Linked DNA regions of Homo sapiens: regions 1, 2, 3, 4 and 5 are each linked to region 6. The links are contacts of gene promoters, found by promoter capture Hi-C in blood cells and fetal thymus (Javierre and others, 2016). All regions are on one chromosome and are shown on one strand. The core of a region is centred on a gene start or on the middle of the fragment in contact, and the rest is flanking DNA. Distances in the headings are between cores, read along the strand shown. Region 1 overlaps MAN1C1 (mannosidase alpha class 1C member 1). Region 2 overlaps MAN1C1 (mannosidase alpha class 1C member 1). Region 3 overlaps MAN1C1 (mannosidase alpha class 1C member 1). Region 4 has its middle 6.4 kb from the start of SELENON. Region 5 overlaps MAN1C1 (mannosidase alpha class 1C member 1). Region 6 holds the start of LDLRAP1 (low density lipoprotein receptor adaptor protein 1).

Region 1 (2,700 bases), core at 84-2,583, 170 kb before region 6:
AAATGAACAGTAGCAGAGAAAGATGTGAAGTGCTAGCATCCTTAGTGCCTCAGGCTCTCCTGAAACCACCATCGTTCTTCTGCTCTATACTGCTCAAGGGAGAGGCCCTGGCTTTCCTCATCTTTCTGTTTCCAGGGCTTGGCACATAGTAGGTGCTCAGTAAAGACATCTAGTCAGCTGAAAGACCATGGCATGGTTCAAGCCCTGGCACAAGACCAGCTAGATGCTCTCTGAGGGCAGAGCCTGGACCTTTCTGTTCACCACAGTAACTTTCACACCTAGGTCCACAAAGTCTGTTGTGAGTGCTTAGGTATTCGTTGAGAGAAGGAGTGAAAGGCTGATGTGGCAGAAATCTAGGGTTTCACAGCCCAGCATCCACCTATACTTTCTCTAGTTGACGGGTCCCTGAATCACCTTCTACACCTCCCCTCCTTCCCAACTCCTAGTCCATGTTCTGCTTGAGGTAGAACTGCCTTGACCCCAGCAATGGGAATGATCATGTGACCTAGGCCTTGGTCAGTCCAGCCCTTTCATCCCTCTGGACATGAGGATGAGTTAGGGATAGGCAGAGCCATGGGCCCAATTAAAGCTCACCAGCACTAATTTTGGGCTTAAACTGAAACAGAGTGGCACTAGCTCTTCTGCACCAGACACAGGTTGGGCAGGCTAAAGTTGTTGTACCAGCTTGTTCACATCAAGGAAGAACAACCTGAGAATGAAGACAGTGAAAACAGGCCACAGGGAAGAGAAATAAACAGAGTGTCCGTCTTCATTTGAGACGTGGATCAAGCTGTGCCTGAAGTCTAATCCTAGTGACTTTCAATCAAGTGATCTAGTAAATTGAACTTAAATGGGCTTGAGTTTTTTTGCATCTTGCAAACTGGAGAGTGCAGACTAACATAGTTGACCTTGAGGGTCAATGTCACCCTTAAAATATGTCATCTTAGGTGTAGTGCTAGCACTTAATACAGGTGGGAGCCAGGGTACCACCAGCTTGTGGCATTAACTCCACTTCCTTTAGAGTGTAGCTGACTCTGAGAGCTCGAACAAAGCTTCATTGATTCTACCTGGTATGTGACATTGTAAACCAATCTCACATTATCAGCATTGCAAAAATTCCCCTATAAAAACACAGGAGTCTAAAATGTTAATCTGAGAATTAGTGGACATTTATCTTCTTTTGGATCGGTATAATTTCCTCCCATTTTTTTTTATCTGCTTTCTGAGCCACCTCATTTATCTAAGCTTTCAAAAGCTCATGCAGAACACATAATGCACTTCAGCTACAAAAATCAATGCTTGAGGATGCATTTTTACCAGGGTTGGTAAAGAAATTCTTCTACTGCTTCTCAGAGGCCTTACTGCAAACATTTTTATTCATGAATAAGAGCCAGAATAGTTTTACTTATAAACAAAGCTTTTCCCTAATTATCAAATCAAGGAGTCAATGTCACTTAGAAATATATTCTTTTTTATTTTTGAAGGGATAAAAGTGTGTATTAGTTTGTGCTTCAAACCCCTCTCCTCCCCTAACCATCCAAGACAACTGACTGACTTTAATTAAAGACCATTTACCCTGGGAATGGATTGCTTGCTGCAATTTGTACCGAAGAGACACATTTGCAGACAAATGAATCGCAGTCCTCAGATTTCGCCCATATGACAAAAGAAGTGATTATGTTCCCTCATCACTTCCTCACTCTGAAGAACTCTATTAAGAGAATAATTTGAACTGACTCTCTGCTACGCTGCATTTTAAAGTGTGATCTATTTCAAAGCCACCAACATTTTTTTCCCCTTTTAAAAATGAGTGGTATTTAAGGAAAAATGCCAGCTGGTGTGTCTATTTGAGGAGGGGCTACAGGAAACACGAAGGTTGATTTAACTCCCTCGGAAGCTCCAGTCACTTGCAAGTGCATGAGGAACCTGGAGCCTTGGTTCCCGGCAGCAAAGAGCAGACACTGGGCCCAGCGAAGTCCAAACTCTGGTGCTGTGTTAAACTGAGCCCAAGGAATGCCTTCTCCATGGCCCTCTGATCACCTGTGCAGGCTGCATTATAACGATTTATGTGTCTGTGTACCCTAGTCTGAACAGAGGCCGGAGATGAGGCACATCCATGGGCCTCTTTTCAGACCTCATATGAATCAGGAAGGCTTAGGGCCCAACAGTCCTATATAAACTCCATGTCTCGGGTTAGACAGCAGCATCCAAACACCTCTAGCAAAATAGTTCCAGCCTCCAGAGAGCTGCTTTCAAGAGCCTGTGCCTAGATTGTGCACTGTCGTGTCCTGCTTATCTGTTTCACCCACTAGACTGGACCCTAATAAACTCTTTCTAGAAAGTAGGTCTCTGCCTGCTGCTGTGGAGACTCAAAACCTGCGTATGAATTTTGCTTTGCCATTTGGTATGCTTATGCTGGGCAAATCACTCAGCTTACCTGGGTCTGTTTCCTCATCTATAAAGTGGGTATGGCACCATCTCACCTGACTGTGATGAGGGTGCAATGTGGTAACACAAAAGCACCCAACACATCCCTCCATCTCCTTGTTCCCCACCCCCACCTCATTATGAGAGGACATGACATATAGTAGAAAGAGCACTGGACTGAGAGGCAGGCAGGAGGCCTGTGTGACCCCAGGCAAGTTATTTACCTCATCTGTAATGACCTCAGTTTCCCCATCTGTAATGGGAAAATGGGAA
Region 2 (2,700 bases), core at 156-2,655, 220 kb before region 6:
GGTGTGTGTGAGGGGAGTGTGTGTGAGGGGAGTGTGTGTAGGAGTGTATGTAGTATGTAATGTGTGTGTGAGGGAAGTGTGGATGTATGTGAGGGGAGTGTGGGTGTGTGGGTCTGTGTGTATGGTGGAGTGTGTAATGTGTGTGTGTCTGGGAGGGTGGGTGGGGTGGTAGGGGTGTGTGTGTGTGTGTGTGGAGTGTGGACGTATGTGAGGGTAGTGGTGTGTGGGTCTGTGTGTGGGGGGAGTGTGTGAGGGGAGTGTGGGTGTGTGAGGGGAGAGTAGGAGTGTATGTAGTGTGTAATGTGTGTGTGTGAGGGGAGTGTGGATGTGAGGGGAGTGTGGGTGTGTGTGTATGGGGGAGTGTGTAATGTGTGTGTGTCTGGGAGGGTGGGTGGGGTGGTAGGGGTGTGTGTGTGTGTGTACGAGTGTGGTCTTCCCCAACACTGCGAGGCGGGCTGGGAGAAGCACAGGCATAGGAATGAGAAGACATTGTTCTGCATTAGCTCAGGGTGCACCCCTGCCCACTCTGGGCCTTGGTCTCCCCATCTGCAGATGTGTGAAGGGGGCACGAGCTGGTGTCCGTGAGCCCCAGAGCAGAGGCAGGCTCTGCTGCTTCCTGACCGTGCCAATGCGCTCGTCACACCTGGCAGCAGGAGGCTGGGCCACAAGCCTGGAAATCAGCCGATCTGATGCCAGGGAAGCTGCCAGGCTGCAGCTCACACTCCTGTACCTACCAAGGAGGTCTGGACTTGCCACTTCCCTCCCACAGAAGAAAGTGTGGGATTCAGGCAGTGGACAAGTTACTCAGGTGCCGCACCGAGGGGCTGGTGACCCCTCCTCGGCAGCTCTCAGGGGGTTGGCCTCAGGGTGGTCTCATTTGTGTTGGGCACCATCGGGAGCCTGGTGGATTTATCCTGGATGTGAACTCTTAGCAATAGGACGGGTCTTGGGGCTCCCCTGTTACCCCTGAAGCTCGGTTTCCAGGAGGAGTGGGAAGCCAACAAGAGCAGAGGCCTAGGTAACTGAGATGCAGTCCTAACTCCTCCTTCGTTTCTCTAGGCTGCAATTTCTGTGGTTGCAAATGGGCTACGCAGAACCTGCCTGTCCTGCCTTCAGGCTTGTTCTGAAGATTCAAGAAGAGAAAATGATGTGCGTGCACTTAAGCTTATGCAAGGTGGTAATGCTATCAAGTGCTAAAAGAATACGTATGCACCAAAAAAAAAACCAACAAAAAACCACAGGAAACCTGAGATGACCCCGGGCACCAAGGCCAGGGGAGGAGGAAGGCAGACGTTTGGGCGAGCTGGGCATTATAACCCCCTCTGCTCTTTAGCAGGCCGAGGGCTCAGATTTTATTAATAGGAAACAATTTCCCATATGCGACTGACTTTGCCCAGACCTGCAGGCCCTGACTCTGCCTGAGAAGAAAATTATGCTTCCCGGCAGGGGCTCCCTTATAATTTGCCAAGGTAACTGTTGAGCTAGGAAGCCCACACCCCTTTCAGCCCTTTTCATGGGTTCTGCTGCCTTGCCCTGGAGCAGCTCAGAGGGGTTTATCTCCTTATCCAGTCAGGTCTCGCAATTAAAACCAGCAACTGTTATCGAACTGCCTCTTCCCGTGGCTATAATCTGCAATTCAAGCTTCATTTTCTCCCCGTACTTTTGGATTCGGCAGTGTGTTTTGGTTAAAAATACTCTGCATTTCTCTAAGTGGTTTTTACGGGAGGCCACTTGGGGTGAGGTCGTCCCTGGGGGAAATTCCTGGGTTGAGTTTTCTGGGGGAGGTTCAGGTTGGAAGGAAAGGCCTCAGCTGCTTCGCCACAGTGTCCCCAATGCTGCCTCTCTAGGCCCCACTTGCATTGTTCCCTTTTGGGACAACTTGGACCATCTTTGGCAGATGGAAGTGAAATCTGTTTCCTGCAGCCTTTGACCATTCTTCCTACGCCCCTCCATGGCACACAAAGAATGCATCTCATTCTCTTCTTTCATTTTGCAGGACAGGAAACCAAGGTTCAAAGAGATACAGTGAATTCCCCCCTAAGCCACACAGTCATTAGACTCATACCCACTTTGCCCCTGAGCCCTTGCTGATGTCACAAAAACTGGGTTGGAGGCAGGGGAAAGGGAAGGGGGTCCTTGTTTGCACACAGACAGTGGGGGTGGGGGCTCTGCCAGGTCTTGGGAGGCCCTAGAGGCAGTGCCCACGGAACCTGTCACTGCCAGTTCCAGCTGACCATGACCATGTGACCAGGGCCTGCCTCTGCTTCCCAGAGCTGGGCTTCTCAACAGGCATGCACATTCCAGAGGCCTGGGGGACTTGTCCACACTCTCACACCTAAGCGACCCCAAACCCCATTCTGTTGCAATGGGTAGGGCTGGGGGCTTGTGAATGATGTTCCATGGGTGACTGGCTGTTATCTGGCTGAGAAACAAGTCTCTGAACAGAGACCTTCTGAAAACTCTGGGACTGATTCTTGTAGGTCTAAGATGTATAGATGAATTCATGACGTCTTTTGTTTTTTTTTGGGACGGAGTCTTGCTCTGTCGCCCAGGTTGAAGTGCAGTGGTGCGGTCTTGGCTCACTGCAACCTCCGCCTCCCGGGTTCAAGCGATTCTCCTGCCTCAGCCTCCTGAGTAGCTGGGACTAGAGACACGTGCCACCACACCCAGCTACTTTTTGTATTTTTAGTAGAGACAGGG
Region 3 (2,700 bases), core at 158-2,657, 200 kb before region 6:
ACTGCCCTGACCCAGCTACCTCCTCTCTCTTGCATTTATTCCACTGGCTTCCTCCCCGCCCCCTTGGCATCTACCCTTGCCCTTCCCTCTTCCCCGATCCACCCATCTGTCCTCAGCGTTGCAGCCAGAGAGATTTTTTAAAAAATTCAAGTCAGCCGGGCGCGGTGGCTCACGCCTGTAATCCCAGCACTTTGGGAGGCCAAGGCGGGTGGATCACGAGGTCAGGAGATCGAGACCATCCTGGCTAACACAGTGAAACCCCGTCTCTACTAAAAATACAAAAAATTAGCCGGGCATGGTGGCGGGCGCCTATAGTCCCAGCTGCTTGGGAGGCTGAGACAGGAGAATGGCATGAACTCGGGAGGCGGAGCTTGCAGTGAGCCGAGATAGCGCCACTGCACTTCAACCTGGGTGACAGAGCGAGACTCCGTCACAACAACAACGACAACAACAACAACAACAACAACAAAAATTCAAGTCATATCATGCCACTCCTCTGCTCGAAACCCCCCATGGCTCCCATCTGACTGAGAGTTGAAAGCCTTAGTCCTTCCCGTCCCTGGGGCCCTGTGATCTGTCCTGGTTCCCTCACTGCCTCTCCTCCTCCACTTTGGCTGCACGCTGTCCCTTCAGCCTCCACTTCGGCCTCCAAACCTGCTCCTTGCCTAGGCCCTGGTAGCTGCGGGCTACTCTGCTGAAACTGTTCATGCCACTCACTGTCTCCTTGTCTTCTCTGGTTTTCCCCAGCCTTCATCACCAGGGGCATCACGCACGGATCTGCTTTCCCAGCCACTCTGTCTTCTCCTGAGGGGTTGGCTCCTAGGGAGAGAACTCGGTTCACCGCCACCTTCCACTGCCCAGAACACTTTCCAGCCCCCACGGGGGCCCGTAAGTATTTAGGAATGAAAGAAAGGCCCCCTCCAACTGGATGGGGAGGGCTTCAAGGGGGGCTGTGGCGCATTCACAACTCCCAGTGCCTGGCTACAGTCTGACCCTAGGAGGCATTAAAGGTAAGGGGTTCGGCTGAACAAAACGAGCCCACAGCATGGGCGTCTGTGGTGACTACGTCCAGAGCAGGGTTAAGTGTCTACTCCAGGGGCTGCCACCACTAGACAAAGACCCTCCCACCAGGCTGCCCAGAGTGACAACATGTGCCCAAAGCCTCGCCCTGCACAAAGCTTTCTGTGAAGAGCGTGTCAATCTCTACAAGGAAATGAACCTCCAGCTCCCAGAACCTCCTCCCCAGGAGCTGCTGAGCCAGGAACCAGCCTGCCTCCCTGGATCACGGTCTGTATCCCACCCTGCTGACTCTGCCATATTAATGATGATGATGTTTTTATGTGATATCATATTAGCAAAGAGAAATGGTCAGGCTGGCAACACAAACTCCAGGAAGAACATTTAGAAGAAAAAAAATCACCCAAGGCATAGCCTATTCCCACAATATCCCCAGAGCCACATACTAATGGCTGCATTTAATTTAATGAGACAATGCACAGACTTTTCTTAATCTGTAAAGAAACAACACACACGTTTTTCTCAGCATCCACAGAAACCCATGTGGCTGTGTGGCAGACCATCTTTTCAAAGGCAGCTGCTGTGGTGTATCTTATCCCACAAGAAGAACGAAGCTTTTCTTGTGACACTGACACACCTCCCATGGCTCCTCCCCTTGAACCTGGGCAGACCATTGTGATCATCTGGACCAACGGAATGAAGCAGAAAGGATGAGGTGCTATTTTCTTTATTTTTTTGAGACAGGGTCTCTTGCTCTGTCATCCAGGCTGGAGTGCAGTGGTGTGATCATAGCTTACTGCATCCTTGAACTCCCGAGAAGCAGGGGCTACAGGAGTGCACCACCATGCCTGGATAACTTTTAAAATTTTTTTGTAGAGATGGGGGTCTCACTATGTTGTCCAGGCTGGTCTTGAACTCCTGGCCTCAAGCGATCCTCCCATCTCAGTCTCCCAAAGCACTGGGATTACAGGTGTGAGCCACTGTGCCTGGCTTGACCTTAAGGCCCAGACCTTAAGAAACTGGCAGCTTCCACTTCCTGCCTCTCAGAATGTTGGATCTTGGAACCAGCCACCATACTGTAAGGAAGCCCAAGATAGCTAGCTCTCAAGGAGAAAACATGTAGAGAGCCATGTATCAGTTTTCTGACTGACAGTCCCATCTGAGGTTCTAGCCAACAGCCAGCATCAATTGCAACGCATGACTCAAAAAGCTTCCAGATAATACTACCACCCAGCTGTCGAGTCAGCCTCAGCCTTCAAGCCTTCCCAGCTGAGGGTCTATACATGACTGCACAGAGACAAGCTGTCCCCTGTTGTGCCCTTTCTGAATTACTGACCCACTCAATCTGTGAGCATAATAAAATAATTGTTTTAAGCCCCCAAGTTTTGGAGTAATTTGCAATGTAGCAATAGCAACTGGAATGTTTTTGCCACATGGGTTTTTTAGGAAGATGAATTAAAGTGACATCCCCATTACCCAAAGTTTATTGTTTAAAACCAGATCGTCTAATATGATGAGGTCTTCTGGCGGCATAAAACCCATTTACGGACTGGGACCTCTCCATTTCTATCTGGTCTGTTTCTCGTGTGTCGTGTTTTAATTTTTTTTCCTTGAGCAGGAATATTTTCCTTGAATTTTCCCATGATAGCTATTTCCTGGGTGACATAGCACTGTGCTCTGAGG
Region 4 (2,700 bases), core at 81-2,580, 250 kb before region 6:
CATAAGATGGCAGGGATTGGGCAGGCGTGGACAAGATATATGAGTGTAGCAGAGCCACAGACAGGATTTGCGGATGGGTCAGAAGTGGACGGCAAGAGGAAAGACCAGCATCAGCCATGGGTTGAGCTTGGGTAGCTGGTGGCACCATCCTGAGATGAGGCACCCTGGAGGGACCCCGGCTGGGGAGAAGGCTTGGTCCAGTCTGCCAGGTTAAGATGCCTGAGAGCTGGCTGGGCGTGGTGGCTCACGCCTATAATCCCAGCACTTTGGGATGCTGGGGTGGGCGGATCATGAGGTCAGGAGGTCGAGACCATCCTGGCCAACATGGTGAAACCCCATCTTTACTAAAAATACAAAAAATTAGCTGGGCGTGGTGGCGCACGCCTGTAGTCCCAGCTACTCGGGAGGCTGAGGCAGGAGAATCGCTTGAACCTGGAAGGCTGAGGTTGCAGTGAGCCAAGATCACACCACTGCACTCCAGCCTGGTGATAGAGGGAGACTCCAGCTCAAAAAAAAAAAAAAAGATGCCTGAGAGTCACCCTCACGGAGGTGTCAAGGAGGCAGTTGTGTGTGTATGACTATGGGGCTATGAACGGTAGGGAAGGGGGGCGTGGATTATAAATCTGGGAGTTGCCAGTCTAAAAATGGCACTTAAAGCCACAAGATTCAATGAGATCATTGAAGAGAGAGAAGAGAAGCCGCCTTTGGCCTATGTGGCCACAGATGCCGCCGTGTCTTGGAATGTTGAGTGGCTTTGGCTGGATTTACAGGCATGGAGCTGTGGCTGTGATTAGCCAAAAAATAGATTAACGTTAGAGGTCATGACAGGCTTGGCTTGGCTCTCGTACTGTCCAGGCTGGGAGAGAGATTTGTTTCCCGGGGTCAGTAAATGCCCCCGGGACTTTGCCAGATGGACAGATTTAGTCTCAGCATCACGAGTGCAGAGGTCCTGGTTACCCAGCCTGGCTGCCCACTAGTCACCTGGGGCCTTTGAAGGAGACCAATGCTTGGGGCCAACCCCCAGTTGGTTGGGGGAAAGAGGGACATTTTTACCAGCTCTCCAGTGATTTTGAGGGAGAAAATGTAAAGACGGCCAAGTTCCACACACAAGCCACAAAAAAGAGTTTGACATTCGGGGCCTTTCCAACGGTGAGTGTCAGGCACAGGCAGATGGTACCGGATGATCTGGCCTGAATTCTGTTCCACTTGTCTTGTGTGTTTTGAACTGGGTCCAGGGCCAAGGAGGGAACCGTGCTGGGGGGTCAGCCACCCTGGTCTGCTCAGGACTGACACTGATGGAGCACCGAGGATGTGGGATATTCGGTCCTACAAGCAAGAAAGCCCTAACTGGGATGAGCTAGTCACCCAAACAAGGGAGAGGCATAGCTCAGCTTGCATCTGAGAGGCTTTATTTCATCATCTCTGATCTTGGTTGTGCACTTCAGAGGTTTTTTTTTTTTTTACCACAAATGGGTACAAGAGGGCTTCATAATGACCAGACAAGAAAGTGTGAGCATCCTTATTAGACAGGAGCTAAGTGGTTATAAGTTGTATCATATAAATTAAGACAGAAAATGCAGAGGATTTTTTTTTTTTTTTGAGACAAGGTCTCACTGTCACCCTGGCTGGAGTACAGTGGTGCAACTTCAGCTCACTGCAATCTCTGCCTCCCAGGCTCAACTGATCCTCTTACCTCTGCCTCCTGGGCTCAAGAGAGCCTCCCACCTCAGCCTCCCGAGTAGCTGGGATTACAGGCGCCTGCCACCACACCCGGCTAATTTTTGTATGTTTAGTAGAGATGGGGTTTCACCATGTTGGCCAGGCTGGTCTCTAACTCCTGACCTCAGGTGATCCGCCCACCTCGGCCTCCGAAAGTGCTGGGATTATGGTTGTGAGCCACTATACCCAGCCTATTTTATTTTGAGATGGGGTCTCACTCTGTTGCCCTGGCTGCAGTGCTATGGCATGATCATAGCTCACTGCAGCCTTGAACTCCTGGCCTCAAGCCAGCCTCCCGCCTTGACCTCCCAAAGTGCTGGGATTACAGGTGTGAGCCACTATACCCAGCCTCAGTGGAATGTTTATAATGCAAAAAACCATGAAAAGAATGAAATGTCTGTGCCTGAAATTAGGTGATGGTGAAAGAGGTCCACATAGGGTTTGCTCTGGGGATGGCAGGTATTGACTAGAAGCAGCACATGCAAGCCTTCTGGGTGCTGGAATAGTCTTGATCTTGACTGGGGAGGTGGTCATATGAGCGTGCATATAGGTCAACATTCCTTGAGCTGGTCATTTAAGAATAGTGCGTTTTAGGCTGGGTGCAATGGCTCACGCCTGTAATCCCGACACTTTGGGAGGCTGAGGCGGGTGGATCACCTGAGGTCAGGAGTTCAAGAACAACCTGGCTAACATGGTGAAACCCCGTTTCTACCAAAAATACAAAAATTAGCCGGGTGTGGTCCTGTAGTCCCAGCTACTCGGGAGGCTGAAGCATGAGAATCGCTTAAACCTGGGAGGCGGAATTTGCAGTGAGCTGAGATTGCGCCATTGCACGCCAGCCTGGGCGACAGAGTGACATCGTGTCTCAAAAAAAAAAAAAAAAAAAAAAGAATAGTGCATTTTACACATTACTGTATCTACATTATATCTCAAAAAAAATTTTTTTTTAAAGTTTCACTTAAAAACTCAAGGAGAAATAGG
Region 5 (2,700 bases), core at 106-2,605, 150 kb before region 6:
AAAAAAGAAGGAAAAGAAAAGTAAAAAAAGAACAGCAGCTACCCTTGGGGAGCTACAGACTAGGAGGGACCTGAGAGAACCTTTTAGGGTGATGGAAATGCTTTTAATCTTGACCTGCATGGCAGTTACACAGAGGTAACTATATGTAAAATCCATTAGACTGTGCACTTAAGATTTGTGCAATTTAATGTAGACATGTTATAAGTTATACCCCAATTTTTAAAAAGTAATTTTAAAACAAAAAAAAAATAGAGGCTCAAGTTAGAAGACCAGGGTTCGATCCTGGCTGTCTGACCTCAGGTAGTCCCGGCCCTCTCAGGACCTGCCTCCCGGTCCTCAGACACTGGACCACAGGCTACAAAGGATCCAAGTGGCCTGGTAGTCTGAGATTCTGGGAATGCACATACCTATTTGTCACAGGGTTTGCTGGGAAACTTGGCAAGTGCTGCCATCAATGCGGTGAGAAGAAAAGGAGGCTCTTGCTGTAGGCTCAGCCTTGTTTCTAAGGAAGGAAAGGTCTTCGCAAAGTGGGCGGAACACGCTGCCACCAGGAGAGAATGTCAATTTCAATATGAATCATCTCCTACATCCCCAGCAACTTGCTCTGGGAATAGACACCCTGACTCACTCCTCTCCTGACAGGAACAAGACTTGTTGCTGAAATCTCAGATTCCAAGAAGACCAGCCCAATACCCCCTTCGAAATGAAAAAGAAAGAAAGACAGAAAGAAATCAACCTAGTAACCAACCAGCAGTCACAGAACCCTGGGCAGAGACAAAGCAAACCCCTTTGTACTGATGAAGAGACGAGGCCCAGAGGAGGCCGGCTCACTCGGCTGCTGGCGCCAGAGCGGGGACACGAACCCAAGGCTCCTAACCTCCAATTTTCTTTTGACAACAACTTGCTACTATATTTTCTAGAGAAATAAATTATGCTCTGTGCTAGTGGAAAGCCTTTTAAAGAACAAGAAAATGGCCAAGATGCATCTTAATTAGAAACTGCTTGGCAAAAACTCTTTGAAGAAGGAAAGCGCAGAGTGTGGAGCGGTGAGTGGTCGGTCGGCGGTGTGAGTGCACGACACTGCAGCAAGCTAATTTCGAGGCGTGCTTTGCTCTGATGATCACCCCTTGGGCCCCAGGAATGTTCTGATCATCAGAAGGTGGCCGAGGAATTGTGCACATGTCACTCAAGGCCACAAGGAGACCACCATGGGGCCGTAGCATCTGTCTAACAGCAGGTTCTCTTATCTTCCTTGGGCTAAGGGCCTGGCTATCAGTGACCAGTGCTCCTAAGCCATTTCCTCCGACTTTTATATCCTCTGGCCTCCGGATGGCGCTTTCAGGGCTCTCAAAGCATGTGACTACCAGGAAGGTTTGCTTGCTGCCCTTAAGCCTGACCCATTCTATCCAAGGAATTGCAACATCACCACTTACAAAGCTGATGACAGCTTTTTCTCAAAACAAACTCAAAGCCTGGGTCAGGAATGTGCACCGCGGCCTGCCAGAATCAGTGAGCAACATAGCCCAACACTGAGTTTCCAGGAGCTATGGATTTTTTTTCTCCAGAAAAAAACCTCCAAAAACCAAAACTCATCAAGTAGTTATGGTATTTTCAGCCAGATAAGTCAAATGTATACACCGGGAAGGGTGTGTATACCTGCAGGGAAGAAAAAAAATGTAATGTTTGGTGAAGGCTTACTATGTGCTAACCCCCCATTTCACAGGTGAGTAGACTGAGGTTCAGAGAAGTTTGTGACTTGCCCAATTTCACTCAGCTGGTAAGTGCTAGGGATGGGATTTAAACCCAGGCATATCTCTGAAGTCAAAGCTGCTACCTCCCAGAAACATACGTGGAGATCCACGTACTAGGGAAGCAGCTGGTTTTCACAAACTATCTATCTGGCAACATCTGCAGTTCCCAAGGCAGCCACACTGGTGGAGTAACTCTCACCCCGACAAAAAGACCCACCAAGGCTGGTGTGTGTGTGTGGAGGGGGAGAGTATGAACAGTTTGCAGAAGGCACTACTAAGTCACACGCCAAAAAGCAATTGTAAAAATGACATCTTGGGGCCTGGATTTATTCCCTCTTCAACATCATATTTGCTCCGTTTACAAGGCAAAGATGATTTTTCTCTCTGCCAAGGCTGAACATTCCCAGCCTGTGATCTGAAAATCATGCTGTGTTCATTTTGCCTCTTAACTCACCCAAGGCCATAAATCATCCCTCAAAATGGGGATTTGGCTGGCAGTTCTATTGGGGATTTGCGAGGCAGAGGCGGAATCCAATTTGGGGCTCCTCATGGTCATCCTGGGGCTGGCTCAGAGCAGGGAGATGTTACTTTTGGCCACACAAGCACAGAGAAGAGGCCTGAACATCAGATCTGCTGACTAAGCAGAACTGCTACTTTTTACAGGGTCTGTCTGCTGATTCGGAGTGTACTCTGTGACGAGAGGTCAAGGCAGCTGCAGGGGATGAGAGGAATAGAGAACACAGCAAGACCCAGCCCTTACCCAGCCAAACCCAGGCCGAAGGACATGAGGGAAAATAGGGCACTCAGAGACTGCACTAGGCAATTTATTTATTCTACAAAATGTACTGAAAGCCTACTCTGCACCAGGCACTGTTTCTTTCCTTGGACTATACTTATTCTCATTATTACTTTTTACAAACATAATAATCACAGCAGCCTACATTTTATG
Region 6 (2,700 bases), core at 9-2,508:
GATGGGATGAGGGGGTGCTGTACTGTCAGTTGTTTCCTGATGAGGGGAGAAGCTGTGGCCCGAAGTAGGTGGCAGGGAGGTGGGAGTGTGCAGCAGTCCTGGGCTCTGGCTCCAAAACCAGCAGGAAGGTGTGTGTGACCCCAGGCAAGCCACTCTCTTCTCCCTCCCAAACAACGAGACCTGCGCTAGGCTGGGTCTTCTGGCTTCAGGGGAAGGTGCCAGGTGACAAGTTCCCTGAGCGTAATCAGAGACTGGGGGAGAGAAAGGGGGGGAGGCCCCTCCCAGCCTCCCAGACGCCCCAGGGAGAGGTGGCGGCGAGTCTGTCGTTTGCCTGGGCACCCAAGGGACTCTGGAAGCCCGAGGGGAAAGGTGCGAGAGAAAACAGGTTTCAAAAATAGTCGGGACGCCAGGCTTGCCACCTGGACCCGGCTAGAGGAAGGGACGTAAGGGTCTAGATCGCCTGATGTGGGGCTCTCCCGAGGCACCCCAGGCGGGGCCTCGTTCCCAATTTCAAGTACGTACCTGCGACCCCGGGCTCACACCTGGATGGGTGTCTGGGCACCCGGAGTCAAAAGTTGGCCCGGTGGGTCGGGCAGGGGGCGGGAGAACGGGCCAGTGGGCTCCTGACCGCCGCAGCTGCTGGCTGGGGCGCAGGGGTGCGGGACGGGGGCGTCTTCCCAAGCCCCTGCGCCCTCTCCTCCTCCCCTAGGCACCGACGACGAGCGCCTGCCTCCCCCTAGCTGGCCAGGACAGCAGGGCGGGAGGTGCCGCGGGTGGCGGGGGCCTCTTCTCCCAACCTGCACCCCACCCCATGCCGGCTGCACCTGAGGACCCCGAGCTCGGGCTCCTTCCTCAGCGCTGCCCCTCCTCGCAGCGGCATCGAGCGGCCGGCGAGTAGGTGCACAACTTGACCCCGGCCGACCCCCTGCCCCGCAGGGCCGGGAAAGGGCCACGCCGGGACCGGAGCGCCGGTGAGGCCCCGCCTCTGCCCAACTTGGCCGCACTCCGGGCGCCCGCGGAGGCCCCGCGCGCCTCTGCCCGATCCCGGCCCGGCCCGGCTGACGCGCGCACACTCACTGCGGTGCCGGCCACCGCCCCCCCAGCTCTGCTTGGCCAAGCTGGGGCTCCGGATCAGCGCCCGCCCCGCCGACTTGAGCGCGTCCATGGCCCGCTCCGGCCGCCGCCGCCGCTGCCGCAGCCAAAACTCCGTCAGGAAAAACTTTCCGCCCGGCCCTGCGGCGCGCGGGCTGCGCGCTCCTCCCCTCCCAGCGCCAGCTCCGCCGCGGCGTCCGACGGGGCGGGGCGAGAGAGGACAGGCCCCGCCCCCAGACGGGCCGCGCCCCCGACGGCCGGTCTCGCCCCGCCCGGTCCCTGTCCAGGCTCCAGGTCCAGGCACCAAGAGTTTCCGAGGCCGCCCGAAGGCGCCAGAAGATAGCAAATCGCAAGCCCTAGACGCCCCCGCTTTCCTCCTTTTCCCCAATCCCCACCCCGTAGGGGCCTGAGGGCCTGAGAGCAGCGGCCTAGGATTTCCAGTGACCATTTTACAGATGGGGAGACTGAGGGCTCCTCCAGTGGTGAAAGATCTTGTTCAGGGACAAAAGCAATGCGATGTCCAGGGCAGTGGGAGACTTAGGAAATAGTGGAGGCTGTAAGCCAGGGATATCCAAACTTTTGGCTTCCTTAGGCCACATTGGAAGAAGAAGTGTCTTGGGCCACACATGAAATACACTAACACTAACGACAGCTGATGAGCTGAAATATATATATATACACACACACTCATGTTTTTTGTTTTTCTGTATTGTTTTTTTTCCCCTGAGACAGAGTTTCACTCTGTTGCCCAGGTTGGAGTGCAGTGGTGCGATCTCGGGTCACTGCAACCTCTACCTCCCGGGTTCAAGCTATTCTCATGCCTCAGCCTCCCGAGTAGCTGGGATTACAGGCATGCACCACCATGCCTGGCTAATTTTTGTATTATTAATAGAGATGGAGTTTTACCATGTTGGCCAGGCTGGTCTCGAACTCCTGACCTCAAGTGATCTGCCCGCCTCAGCCTCCCAAAGTGCTGGGATGGCTGTGAGCCACCACACCCTGCCCAAAAAAATCTCATAATGTTTTAAGAACCTTTACCAATTTGTGTTGGGCTCCATTCAAAGCCGTCCTGGACCTCACATGGCCAGTGGGCCACAGGTTGGACAAGCTTGCAGTATAGACCCTTGTTAGGCGCAGGGTCGGTATATAAAAATTTGCCTTTAGCAAGTCCAGCCAGGCACTTTACTCATCCTCGTAGCTCCCAGGCTGCTCCCTGGCACCACCTGAGCATGCTGGGCCACCCCATGCCCCCGCAACTTCCCAGGTAGCCTCACAGATGGTATGATCTGGAACGTGCCCCTGACACTGACTTGCTGTGTGACCTCAGGCAAGTACTTCCCCTCTCTGAGTCTTGTTTATCTGTGAATGAGAGTCAATGCTATCTCTAGTGATCCTTCCAACCTGCCAGGGTCAAGAATCTGCATGACCTTGACCCTGACCCCAAGCTGCTTCCTAGGAGCATTCGGAGGGCAGTCTGAACCCCAGAATTGCTCAGGCACAGATGTTCTAACTCCAGGATTGGAAGGATTTGTTCTAACTCTCTAGGATGCCATGCCTTCCTTTCAAACTGTGCCAAAAGGAGCCAGAGGGAGGACACACACATCCAAG

Evidence for each region. The method cuts DNA at HindIII sites, captures the fragments that hold promoters and counts their contacts. A CHiCAGO score of 5 or more calls a contact.
Region 1: a fragment that was not itself captured here is called in contact with the fragment with the promoter of LDLRAP1 in region 6 in 1 of 17 cell types (naive CD4 T cells); the score reaches 6.1 in naive CD4 T cells.
Region 2: a contact is called between a fragment that was not itself captured here and the fragment with the promoter of LDLRAP1 in region 6, in 4 of 17 cell types (megakaryocytes, naive CD4 T cells, non-activated CD4 T cells and 1 more). The highest score is 6.9, in megakaryocytes.
Region 3: a contact is called between a fragment that was not itself captured here and the fragment with the promoter of LDLRAP1 in region 6, in 1 of 17 cell types (naive CD4 T cells). The highest score is 7.2, in naive CD4 T cells.
Region 4: a contact is called between a fragment that was not itself captured here and the fragment with the promoter of LDLRAP1 in region 6, in 6 of 17 cell types (naive CD4 T cells, naive CD8 T cells, total CD8 T cells and 3 more). The highest score is 8.9, in naive CD4 T cells.
Region 5: a fragment that was not itself captured here is called in contact with the fragment with the promoter of LDLRAP1 in region 6 in 3 of 17 cell types (naive CD4 T cells, total CD4 T cells and non-activated CD4 T cells); the score reaches 7.7 in naive CD4 T cells.

The regions. Positions count from the first base shown.
Region 1 is chr1:25,713,100-25,715,799 of GRCh38, reverse strand. All of the region lies in intron 2 of MAN1C1 (mannosidase alpha class 1C member 1), which reads right to left. Among named protein-coding and RNA genes, the nearest start is that of SELENON, 86 kb to the left of the region's middle. The HindIII fragment of the contact is 172 bases long and covers 1,248-1,419 here.
Region 2 is chr1:25,764,873-25,767,572 of GRCh38, reverse strand. The region is part of intron 7 of MAN1C1 (mannosidase alpha class 1C member 1); the gene reads right to left. Among named protein-coding and RNA genes, the nearest start is that of SELENON, 34 kb to the left of the region's middle. The HindIII fragment of the contact is 477 bases long and covers 1,167-1,643 here.
Region 3 is chr1:25,738,189-25,740,888 of GRCh38, reverse strand. The region is part of intron 2 of MAN1C1 (mannosidase alpha class 1C member 1); the gene reads right to left. Among named protein-coding and RNA genes, the nearest start is that of SELENON, 61 kb to the left of the region's middle. The HindIII fragment of the contact is 453 bases long and covers 1,181-1,633 here.
Region 4 is chr1:25,792,481-25,795,180 of GRCh38, reverse strand. No RefSeq gene overlaps it. Among named protein-coding and RNA genes, the nearest start is that of SELENON, 6.4 kb to the left of the region's middle. The HindIII fragment of the contact is 4,966 bases long and covers 1-2,700 here.
Region 5 is chr1:25,693,959-25,696,658 of GRCh38, reverse strand. All of the region lies in intron 2 of MAN1C1 (mannosidase alpha class 1C member 1), which reads right to left. Among named protein-coding and RNA genes, the nearest start is that of MAN1C1, 79 kb to the right of the region's middle. RefSeq lists a silencer at 427-721 and an enhancer at 450-949. The HindIII fragment of the contact is 4,437 bases long and covers 1-2,700 here.
Region 6 is chr1:25,542,164-25,544,863 of GRCh38, reverse strand. LDLRAP1 (low density lipoprotein receptor adaptor protein 1) reads right to left here and starts at 1,258. Exons shown (of 9, transcript NM_015627.3): 1 at 1,078-1,258. The coding sequence starts at 1,165. RefSeq lists silencers at 759-938, 969-1,428 and an enhancer at 1,529-1,588. The HindIII fragment of the contact is 5,608 bases long and covers 1-2,202 here.